4 separate regions of the Homo sapiens genome follow, and all the other regions are linked to region 2. Evidence: promoter capture Hi-C in human tissues and cell types (Jung and others, 2019). All regions are on one chromosome and are shown on one strand. The core of a region is centred on a gene start or on the middle of the fragment in contact, and the rest is flanking DNA. Distances in the headings are between cores, read along the strand shown.

Region 1 (2,700 bases), core at 121-2,620, 500 kb after region 2:
CCATCTTAACGCCTTAGCATTGGTGGATTCTTCTTGTGAAATCTCCTAGTTGGTTCCTTCAGATCTTAGTTTAAATGGGGTTTCCTATGAGAGAAAGTATCACTAAAGTGGTCATCTCAGCCAGGCTCGGTGGCTCACGTCTGTAATCCCAGCACTTTGGGAGGCCGGGTCAGGTGGATCACTTGAGGCTAGGCGTTCGAGACCAGCCTGGGCAACATAGCAAAACCCCATCTCTCCCCAAAATACAAAAATTAGCCAGTCTCATAACCCTGTCTCAAAATAAATAAAGAAAAAAAATTAAAAATGCTGTATTGTCTTTAAAAAATAAAGTGGTCGGCCGGGCGCGGTGGCTCACGCCTGTAATCCCATCACTTTGGGAGGCCGAGGCGGGCGGATCACGAGGTCAGGAGATGGAGGCCATGCTGGCTAACACGGTGAAACCCCGTCTCTACTAAAAATACAAAAAATTAGCCGGGCGCGGTGGCGGGCGCCTGTAGTCCCAGCTACTCTGGAGGCTGAGGCAGGAAAATGGCGTGAACCCGGGAGGCGGAGCTTGCAGTGAGCCGAGATAGAGCCACTGCCCTCCGGCCTGGTAGAAAGAGCGAGATTCCGTCTCAAAAAAAATAAAAATAAAAATAAAAAAATAAAAAAAATAAAGTGGTCATCTTTCATCACACCATCTTCTACAGCACTTAACACTCTCTGATATTTCCTTGTTGTATGTTTGTTTCTCCCTTCATAAGAGCAGACACATTGTCTGTGATGTCCATGTTCTGACCCCAAAGCTGGAGCAATGCCTGAAACATGTAGTATATACTCAGTATTTGTTGAAAAATGAATATTTGAGGATCATGATGATGAAGAAGAAACCTCAGACTACTTGATCATAAATTCTAGCAATTTCTGCAAGAATAAGAATTGCAGTTTGAAATTAGATGCTGGAAGACTGGAAACCTTGATAGGTCTGGGGCTGAAGGCTGGGGGAAGCAGAAGGAATATACTAGAACTTTGGCGGTTTTCTCCCTATCTAAGGACCCCAGAGACCATGCAAAAGGGAGGGCTAGAATCTTATGACCGGAAACCACAAAACGGGTATTTTCCATCCATAATTCTTCGAAGCCACTTCAGCTAGGCTGTAAATGCGCAAACGCCTTTAGGACCCCGGGTTCCTTTCTGTTTCTTTATGAATGAACCGGCTCCAGTCTGCGCACGCGCAGCTCCCAGTTCTCCCGCTCCACGTGAGGCCCACCCTTCCCTCCTGCTGGCGGCACCGCCCTTACCCATTCTAATGGACCAATGGCGAGCGGCCTGGGGGGCGGAGCCCGGCGCGGCGCGGCTCAGTAGTTCCCCGGGCGCCCGGCTCCCTGGCGTTAGACGTGCTGTGTTGTGATCACGTGGGCAGCTCCGGGCGCGGCGCTTGTTTTGGTTTCCTTCTAACTTGCCCACGGCAGCTTCGGGGTGAGCGACTTTCCTGCACCAGCTGCCGCGCCTGCTCACACCCTGACCTCGTTTTCGGGCTCTCTGAGCCCGCAGTTCCGCAAGCCCCTGGGGCGGGCTCCTGCCATGCCGCTAGTCCGCTACAGGAAGGTGGTCATCCTCGGATACCGCTGTGTAGGTGAGTCTCCGCCCTGCAGAGCTCGGACGCGCAGCAGCTTTGTAGCCAGAAGAGGCGCGCTGCCGTGGGAACGCGACCCAGGGAGGAATGATGACATCGTAAGGATGGGGTTGTAGAGCGAGGATTGGAAGAGTGGAGGAATGGAAGAGTGGAGGATTGGAAGAGTTGGTGGTGTGTGGAGGCTGCAGGAAGCGGGAGCACTTAAGGGTTAATGCGGACCTGGCTGCGGGAATCTCAGAGTGGTCCCAGCGTTACTTTGGGGATAGGGGTGGGGTCACAATTTGAAAACCGGGACGCGGTCTCCGTGGGGACAGATAGTCGCAGGTGTCCTGGGGCGGGGCGGACTTGATCCTAGGGAATCTTGGATCTTCCTACGAGTGGGATGGGGTGGGGAAGGCGGCGGGAAAGGCTTCCTGCTGCGCTTCTGAATGCATCCGGTAGCCAAAGTGCGGAGACCCTGGGTGAAAAGAGGGTGAGGGTAGACACAAAGGATAGCATTGCTTGAGGCACTCACAGACTGTGGTGTTAATTTGGGGTCTCCTTTGGTCCTGGGCCACAGTCCGAAAGGACAGAGGATGTGAATGTGGATGGATGATTTGGATACAACTGTCACACTGCTCCCCACAGGGAAGACATCTTTGGCACATCAATTTGTGGAAGGCGAGTTCTCGGAAGGCTACGATCCTACAGTGGAGAATAGTGAGTAGACTTCTCCCCTAGTGTGCTGGTGGTATGCGACCCGGAGGGCTTGGATACCCCACCCAACTCCATAATTTATTTCTCTGGTGCCAAGGGGCTGATTTATTTAGACATTACATCTGATTTCTTCTTTAGCAATCCTGTTCGATGGATGGCTAGAGTATGGATTTTGCAAGATATTGAGTCTGGGATAGTTTAGATGTAGACATTAAGAACCTTAGCGTGTCTTTCCAGTTACCTGGATAACTCCCTGGAGCTGATCTATCTGTGTCACCCCCAAGGTTAAGAATGTAAGGGGAGGCTGGGCGCAGTGGCTCATGCCTGTAATCCCAGCACTTTGGGAAGCTGAGGCGGGCGGATGGATTGAGGTCTGGATTTCGAGACCA
Region 2 (2,700 bases), core at 199-2,698:
AATAACATTAATATTATTAATGTTCTGTGTAATCACTTTTTATAAAAATTATTTCAGGCCGGGTGCTGTGGCTCATGCCTGTAATCCCAGCACTTTGGGAGGCCGAGGCAGCCTGATCATGAGATCAGGAGTTCAAGACCAGCCTGGCCAACATGGTGAAAACCTGTCTCTACAAAAAAAAAAAAAAAAAAACTTAGCTGGGCATGGTGGCACGTGCCTGTAATCCTAGCTACTCGGGAGGCTGAGGCAGGAGAATTGCCTGAACCGAGACCCGGGGGCCGGAGGTTGCAGTGAGCCGAGATTGTGCCACTGCACTCCAGCCTGGGCTATGGAGCGGGACTCTGTCTCAAAAAAAAAAAATTTCATTGGTTTTCTGATATTTTCACAAGTTTACATAATATATTTAATCAAGTGCCTGTTAAAAAATAAAACACACACTCTTTCATGGGAGTTAAAATAAGTACATACTCATTAAACAAGTCCACAGAACAGTAAATGAGGTTGGTACTCTCGAAGCAGAGGGCCATAGTATACCGTCAGGGCCAAAAGGGCCAGTCTCTCATTTGACACTTGAATTCCCTAGCAATGTCCATGTTATGTGTTCTTGACACCTCTGATGGACAGCTTTGGAACTGAATCTTTCTTATTCTGAGCTGAAGTATGTCTCTCTATAGCTGCTAGACTTTAGTACCTCGCAAAGGAAGCATAAAACAGAATTCCTCTTTTAGACAACAGTCTTTCTAGTTTTCCGGAACATCTCTCACAGCCCCAAATTCCCAATTTTTCCGACAGGTTCGTTCTCCCACCCCAAGATTCCTTCCAAGGCACTCTCCTCTGAAGGTGCTTCCATTGGTTTTCTCTCTTACCTCCCGGCGACCACAAGTGGCCCCAGCCGTCCAGGTGGGGTCCGGCTGACGGGACCAAGTCGACACTACTCCTTCTCGCAGGGTCTCTTCCTTCTCAGTAAAGCGGCCCACGATCCTCCATCCGCTCCTCAGAGAGCCTCTCTGCCCTTTCTGTCCGCCACATCTCCCTGGCTACATTATCTCCCCGACTAGTGCCTAGCAGGCGGGCCTGATAGAAGTTTCTCTAAAGGCTCTGGAGGAGTCAAACAATGCATAAGGTCCTGTGCAACCCTCAGACTCCTATACCTCGTGGGAATTTGGAAGTCGAAATCCAGTCCGCGGTCCCGCCCCTCCCCGGGTCGCCTCAATTAGCCCCGCTCGGTCTCGCCCTAAGTCTCGCCTTTCCCTTTAACCAACCCCTCAAGCCGGGTTACCTCTCCGGTGCCTATAATCCTTAACGTTTCCCTATATGCTGTCCCAACTAGGAAAGCCTTTACTTTCCGCTATTGGTAAAATATTTACACTTTCCGTACCATGGCCACGCCCCCTTCACACACGTTGCCAAGACGAACCGGAAGAGATTGCCAGCCCCCTGGTTCGTTAACCGGAAGTAGACGTACCTCACGGAAGCCGGCTTTGGCCCTGCGGCTGCTACCGTCGCCGCGGAGAAATTGTTGGATCTGGCAGTCTAGGAATGGTGAGACCTCGCGGTTCGCCTCTGAGGGTTCTCAGAGGAGTTGGGGATGAAATGGAGTTTTGCAGAGTGCCGCCGGGGACGACCACCCCCCAAGTTTGGGGCCCCGCCCCAGTGGCGCCCCGAAAAGCTGCGCATGCGTGGGCCGGACCGGGTTAGAATCTGGCTCGAAGTGTTACGCATGCGCAAAGGCATGGAGACCGTGGGGTGAGAATGGGCTTGCGAGTTTACCCCCACCTCCCCAGCCACCAGCCTGTGGGTCTCAAACCAAGGCTACTTGGTGCTCTGCTTTGAGTTGCAGAGGTGACTTCATCAATGCTCCTACCCCGAGTTCTTGAGACAGACCTGGACCGATCCCCTACCTTGGGTGTGCACTCTTGGGAGAACGAGGGGCGGAGGGTCCGGTAAGGAAGGGGCACAGACCCTACCTCAGTTTGCCGGCAAGCTCGGGCCCCTTCGCCCTCTCCTCAGATGTCAAGATTCTTAGTCGTAGCCTATGGAGCGGAGAGCGACAGGCTCACCTGGGGACAGGGCTAGAACACTGAGCTAAGAGCCACCCTGGTTAGAAGTGGGGACTCACGAGAGGAGCGCCCCGAGAAAGTCCAGTACCTGGGTTCTCTAGGGGTTGTTGGGGCACAGCGTGGTTGATAATCACGCAGTTCCCAAACAGTGGTTTTTGGTTTCCACGAGATGGTATCTCATGGAAATACCACTTACTAAATCTTCAGTAAAAACCCCAAATGGAAAAGAAAAACAAAAAAAAAACGAGATGGACTGGTTGGAGTTTTGTCTCCCTTTCTTTTTTCCTGCTTTGGCCTGGGAGGGGAAGGCTGGTGCTGCTGAGCTGAGTGGACAGCTGAAGTAAAGAAAAATGTGGGCCAAAGAATCCCTTGTCTCTTGCTAGTTTATAGTCAAGGCGCTTAACCTAGGAGATACCAGTAGAATTAAAGGGTCTATGAACCCTCTAAAATAGTATGTGTTTGCACCCTTTTCTGCAGTCCATAGCTGTTATCATACTCTGAAAGGTGCCAGTGACCTTCACAAGACTGATGTCTAAGGCTATTATTGGCAGAGTGGGGCCTTATGCCTCTTTCCTGTCCTTATGTCTTCCCTAGCTTATGGGACCCTGGGGGACCTGAGCCAGTATAAGGAAGTGAGGCT
Region 3 (2,700 bases), core at 56-2,555, 370 kb after region 2:
CTAGGATATAAATCTTATTTTAATTAAACCATCACAATGTCCACTCTGCTCTGCACGGAAAGATTGGCATTGATGAAGAAGAAGCTGAGGATGAGCTCTGTGTGAAGCCTCCATTTTACACAGATTTTCACTGAACACAAGATGAACCGTCTTCTATAAAACCACTGGGGATGATGTGCGCTGGATTTTTTGCAACGATTTTTATCTCTGGTGTTTCTGGCACTGACTAAGGTTTCAGGCAGACAGAGGCATGGAGGACCTAGCGACAATCACTAGGGAGCTTCCTGGTTGCTAGCAACAGTAAATACCATGAAGACACAATGACACAAAGACTCAACTTTTCACATACACACAATGAGACCTGGAGCCTGGTTTCTTATTTCAGATACAGAGTCCTTGAGATACAGTACAAAGGCTTCTTCTCTCTCTCCTTTGTATTAAATTTTTTAAATTGTGTGCAGAAACACATACTGCCCAAGAGCCTATATGACCATCTTGCTGCTCAATTTGTCTAAGAACACTTGTATTCTAACCTTCCTCTCAGTACTGTCATTTTTTTACTATTTTGAGGGAGAAATAGAAGGAAATAAGCTGTTTATCTGACTTGGGGATTTTAAATTATGTGTGACTTTGAAAAACTCATTTGTAAATACCTGTCTTCTGTAAGAGTTATAATTGATTTCCACTCTTCTGAAAATATTCAGAAAAACTATCTGAAAGATCTTCTTCTCCAAGCTTATTCTCTATTTTGTTTTTAGAAAAGGTAGAAGCATACAGAATATGAAATACAGCACTGGCAATTTAAGGTTTTTCCATGACTCATTCAAGGAAATTGCATAATAGCCTTTCCCTGCCAAGTTCACAGACTCTTCTCAAATACCTTGCAATTTTCCTTATTCTATTCCTTTATTCCTCAACCTCATCTCTCTTTCCTTCTTTTCTATGTGCCATTAACTTTTTTCTCTTTTCTCTAAGGCTGTAAAACTCTCTAGGGTATAGTCATGTGATAGGCAAGGTGACAACGGAAATTTGAAATACCCCCAACCTTGCTAGTCTGTCTCCTAGCAACTGTATAATACGTTGCTTAGTAACATGGGGGTGAGAGTGAAGTCGCTCTTACAAATCTAAAAATACTGAAATCATTTTAAAAAGATTAATAGTGGGCTTATTTATTAAAATATACTAAATCCATAAATAGTCTTGCCATATAAGGGACTTATTTCAGGCTATGCTATCTTGAGTGAAACTCTACATCTCTTATAATCTGTAGACAGTACTAGAACAACAGATTGCTGTTCACATAAGCAGATGAAGGAAAAAACCCACAGCGTTCTCTAAGCCTTTCTCTTCTACACATGTATAATCAAAGTTTACATCCACAGGGAAATGGAGAAATGTTTGCTAAATGATCTTTTAGGCTAGGCAGATGAAGAAAAAGCTAGGCAGCTTTTTCTAAGTTCTCTTTTGCCTGTGCATAATTGATTTCTAAATCTAAAGGAAGGTGGATCCAGCATTATCTCCAGAGAAGTTTAAAAAAAAAAAAAAGAAAAAATATTTTAAAAAGGGAATATGGAGAGACATTTCTTAAAATGCTCTTTGAGGCTAGGCTTCACTAGGAGTTGTGTCTTTAGGGTTAACAACCATAAATAAAGTAATTTTCAGTAAATTTATCGAGCGGATATCAGAATTTAGAAATAGCTGAACCACATCAAGCACACTAAAATTGTTTAGCTCAAAAATGATAAATTATTAATTCTAGGAGAGTATTATTTACTGAATTAGACCTACTGAATCAGACTCTCTGGTGGAGGAACTGGGGATCCATATTTTAACCAGCACCCCAATTACTTCAGCACATTTAGGAAACACTGGTGTACATGATCATTCCAACATGTTATAGGGGGGTATCTTCTATTTTAGTCTTAGATTTATGCCTGTAACACTTGAAGAGGGAGGTTCAAAGCCCAACCTAAATATTCTGCCACGTCCTCCCCTTGATGTAGGCCCTTTGGCTAATAAGACTGGTCAAGGCTGGGCGTGGTGGCTCACGCCTGTAATCCCAGCACTTTGGGAGGCTGAGGTGGGTGGATCACCTCAGGCTGGGAGTTCGGGACCAGCCTGGCCAAAATGGTAAAACCCCATCTCTACTAATAATACAGAAATTAGCTTGGTGTGGTGGTGCACGCCTGTAATCCCAGCTACTCCGAAGGCTGAGGCAGGAGAACCACTTGAACCTGGGAGGCAGAGGTTGCAGTGAGCTGAGATCATGCCATTGCACTCCAACCTGGGCGGCAGAGTGAGACTTCCATCTCCAAAAAAAAAAGACTGGTAAAGCTTCAGAAGCCTCCTCAATTGTTCATTCTGCAAATGTTTATTAAGATAATTTTGAATTGTAATTGACAGAATTTAGTGATCAGTTAGGATTAACTTAAATGAATTAAAGTACTTAGAATAGTGCCTGGAACACAGTGTTATATGAGGTTATTATTATTATTTATTTTATATATATATATATATATATATATATATATATTTTTTTTTTTTTTTTTTTTTTTTTTTGAGACAGAGTCTTACTCTGTCACCCAGGCTGGAGTGCAGTGGTGCGATGTCAGGTCATAGCAACCTCCGCCTTCCAGGTTGAAGTGATTCTCATGCCTCAGCCTCCCTAATAGCAGGGATCATAGGTGTGAGCCACCACAC
Region 4 (2,700 bases), core at 189-2,688, 330 kb after region 2:
TGGAATTACAGGCGCGCACCACCAGGCCCAGCTACTCTTTGTATTTTTAGTAGAGACGGGGTTTCACCATGTTGGCCAGACTGGTCTCAAACTCCTGACCTCAGGTGATCCACCTGCCTCGGCCTCCCAAAGTGTTGGGATTACAGGTGTGAGCCACTGCGCCCAGCCTGGTCCAGCCAAGGTGCCAGCGAGTCTCTCCTGGACAAAAAATGGGGCGCTGACCTGCAACCCCGACACCTTTCCGGAAAGGGCCTTGCAGCGGCGCGGCGCGTCCAGCAGATGGCGCCCCAGCTGAATTTTCGCGAGCTGTCCTCCAAGCTTGCAGAAAAATCTGGAACTAACAGGAAGGGGAATTTTTTTTTTTTTTAAGCATTCTAATTTTCAACCTATACTGCCTTTTTGTCCGTGTCAGGAGCCCTTTTTATTCGAATAAGTTGCAATGCATTTGAGATGTCTAAAAGACTTTTTGATTACGCAATCCCAAATTAATTTTTTTTTTTTTTTTGGCCGGGCGCAGTCGCTCACGCCTGTAATCCCAGCACTTTGGGAGGCCGAGGCGGGCGGATCACGAGGACAGGAATTCGAGACCAGCCTGACCAACATGGTGAAACCCCGTCTCTACTAAAAATACAAAAATCAGATGGGCGTGGTGGCGGGTGCCTGTAATCCCAAATACTCGGGAGTCTGAGGCAGGAGAATCGCTTGAATCTGGGAGGCGGAGGTTGCAGTGAGCCGAGATCGCGCCAGTGCACTCCAGCCTGGGCAACAAAAGCAATACTCCGTCTCCAAAAAGAAAATTTTTTTTAGGATGTCCACTCTTCCAAAAGACCCAAGAGGGAGGTTTTCAAACAGCATTAATTGTCACAAGAGTTCAGAAACTTTCGCGGACAGCGATATGTGAAGAAAGGCCGCTTCTAAACAGCAGGGCGTGGCGGGGGCGCGCTCGCCGGGCCGCGGCGGAAGTGGCCTTCGTGGCGGGCGGGGCGGCGGCTGCGGCCTGGAGATAGCGCCGCCTGCTGGTCACCGGGGACAGAGCGCTCGGGGCTCGCCAGGACTGCGGCGCCACGCGGGTGGGAGCCCGAGCCCAGGCCCAGGCCCTGGCGCTGCACGTCACCGTACTAACCAAGGAAGCAAAGTCATGGACACAACCACAGCCTCCTTTCTGCTCTGCAGAGAAACCTGGAAGCCTACTCTGGTTTGGAGAGTAGTGTTTCAACGAACTTAACGGTTTTTAGCGCTTGCCACAGCTAAACAGGGTGGACTTGATTTTTAGGGTGTCCTTGTTATTTAAGACAATGCTAAAGGAGAATGAAAATTAGAACCTGGTAGGGGACTGCTTTCATTTATTCTCTCCTGCTTTAATGGGATTTACAACATATTAAAAGCAGTTATCAGAGGCAAATTGGATAAATGGGCTAGGGGTTGCGTTTCAAGGTGGAGGCGTTTGTCATTTCTGACTGTGGCCCCTCGTTTTTATTCCAGGATCGTTGCAGTGCCATTTCTAGGTCCCTCCTCCTCTCCCCACTTCCCTTTTCTCTGCACCCATTTGACAGGAGCCTCTGCAATCATCTGCTTATTGCGCGTCACCGTCATCCAGTGGGAGAGCCTTGTGGTACCACCTTTCTCCACCTATGGCTGCGGCCCGCAGGAAGATGACGGGTTGCGCTTCTGCTCTGGAGCCAGCCCTGTTGCCGGGAACTGCAACCCGCAAGATGATGCCAGAGCTCAGCTTCCCTCTTTTTATGTTGCAGAGTTTATGCTGCCCTGCACTGAGCAGACGCTTTCGCTTACGCAGCCCTGCCCTTCACCTTGCCCAGTGATTCCGGAATAACCTTCCGGACCCTCCTACTTGCAGAGGTTCGTTGCTTCAAGCGTCATAATCATTCATCTCCGTTTTTCCTCTAGTGATGAAGGCTCGTGGACGGACCACGGTTCACTCGGTCTAGGAGTCACGCTGTTGATCAGGTTGTCAGACATCAAAATTCCCATCTCCCATCAGGGCACAGCTATAGGGCTCTGGGTCAAAACAGGGCCTTCTCTTTTGTCTGGTAGCACCAGAAACACGGTAATTGGGAACCCATCAGGAATGGAAGGCTCCTTGAGGCCCTGGAGATGGAATGTTGGGCCCCCAAGTCCTGAAAGGAACCAGTGGGGCTGTAATCTTCACAATCTGGATCCAGCCAGAAGAGCACTGAGAGCTCAGTGTTTGGAGGACAAAAAAGGGCAATGGATATACAGTAACTTAGTGAATCAGGGCCCGGATCCAGGAAGATGCCTGACATTTGTTTATCAGCAGAGAAACAGAAGTAAAGGAGGGGAACCTTCTCCTAAGTGTTACTGTGTTATGAAAGTGTCCTTCAGGGAGAGGCGACATGAACAGGGCAGCTGATAACGTTGATACTGTGCAGGCACACATCTCCCCACATTCCCCAGGCTGCTGAACCAAGTGTACCAAACTAATCGCAAGGACACAGCTTTGAGCCTCCCCGGCGGCAGTCCCTGGAGAGAGTCCGCTCAGACAAAGCAAAGCGCGCTCCCAGCGGGGAGGGGTGGCCACTTTTTCTTTGTTCTCCCTTGGAAAATCGGCTGTCTCTCAAGTCTCGTAAACCAGCTGCTTTCACTTCTTGCAGGGGGTCAAAATCAATTAATCACCAATCATGTTTGGACAGCACAGTTTTGAAGCCCTGAACTCTGTGAAAT

Evidence for each region. The method cuts DNA at HindIII sites, captures the fragments that hold promoters and counts their contacts. A contact is called where the count stands out against the background at its distance.
Region 1: the fragment with the promoter of RHEBL1 here is called in contact with the fragment with the promoter of MCRS1 in region 2 in 1 of the 25 tissues and cell types used here (dorsolateral prefrontal cortex).
Region 3: a contact is called between a fragment that was not itself captured here and the fragment with the promoter of MCRS1 in region 2, in 1 of the 25 tissues and cell types used here (IMR-90 fibroblasts).
Region 4: a fragment that was not itself captured here is called in contact with the fragment with the promoter of MCRS1 in region 2 in 2 of the 25 tissues and cell types used here (adrenal gland and hippocampus).

What each region holds. Positions count from the first base shown.
Region 1 is chr12:49,068,649-49,071,348 of GRCh38, reverse strand. RHEBL1 (RHEB like 1) reads left to right here and starts at 1,370. Exons shown (of 8, transcript NM_144593.3): 1 at 1,370-1,615; 2 at 2,243-2,314. The coding sequence starts at 1,564. RefSeq lists enhancers at 927-976, 1,347-1,656 and a silencer at 1,207-1,326. The HindIII fragment of the contact is 9,146 bases long and covers 1-2,700 here.
Region 2 is chr12:49,566,890-49,569,589 of GRCh38, reverse strand. It overlaps MCRS1 (microspherule protein 1), which reads left to right and starts at 1,448. Exons shown (of 15, transcript NM_006337.5): 1 at 1,448-1,542. RefSeq lists enhancers at 949-998, 1,349-2,152. The HindIII fragment of the contact is 15,517 bases long and covers 1-2,700 here.
Region 3 is chr12:49,199,668-49,202,367 of GRCh38, reverse strand. No RefSeq gene overlaps it. Among named protein-coding and RNA genes, the nearest start is that of TUBA1A, 12 kb to the right of the region's middle. The HindIII fragment of the contact is 4,030 bases long and covers 1-2,700 here.
Region 4 is chr12:49,232,921-49,235,620 of GRCh38, reverse strand. It overlaps a transcript of TUBA1C not described here. Among named protein-coding and RNA genes, the nearest start is that of TUBA1C, 31 kb to the left of the region's middle. RefSeq lists a silencer at 855-1,144. The HindIII fragment of the contact is 6,126 bases long and covers 1-2,700 here.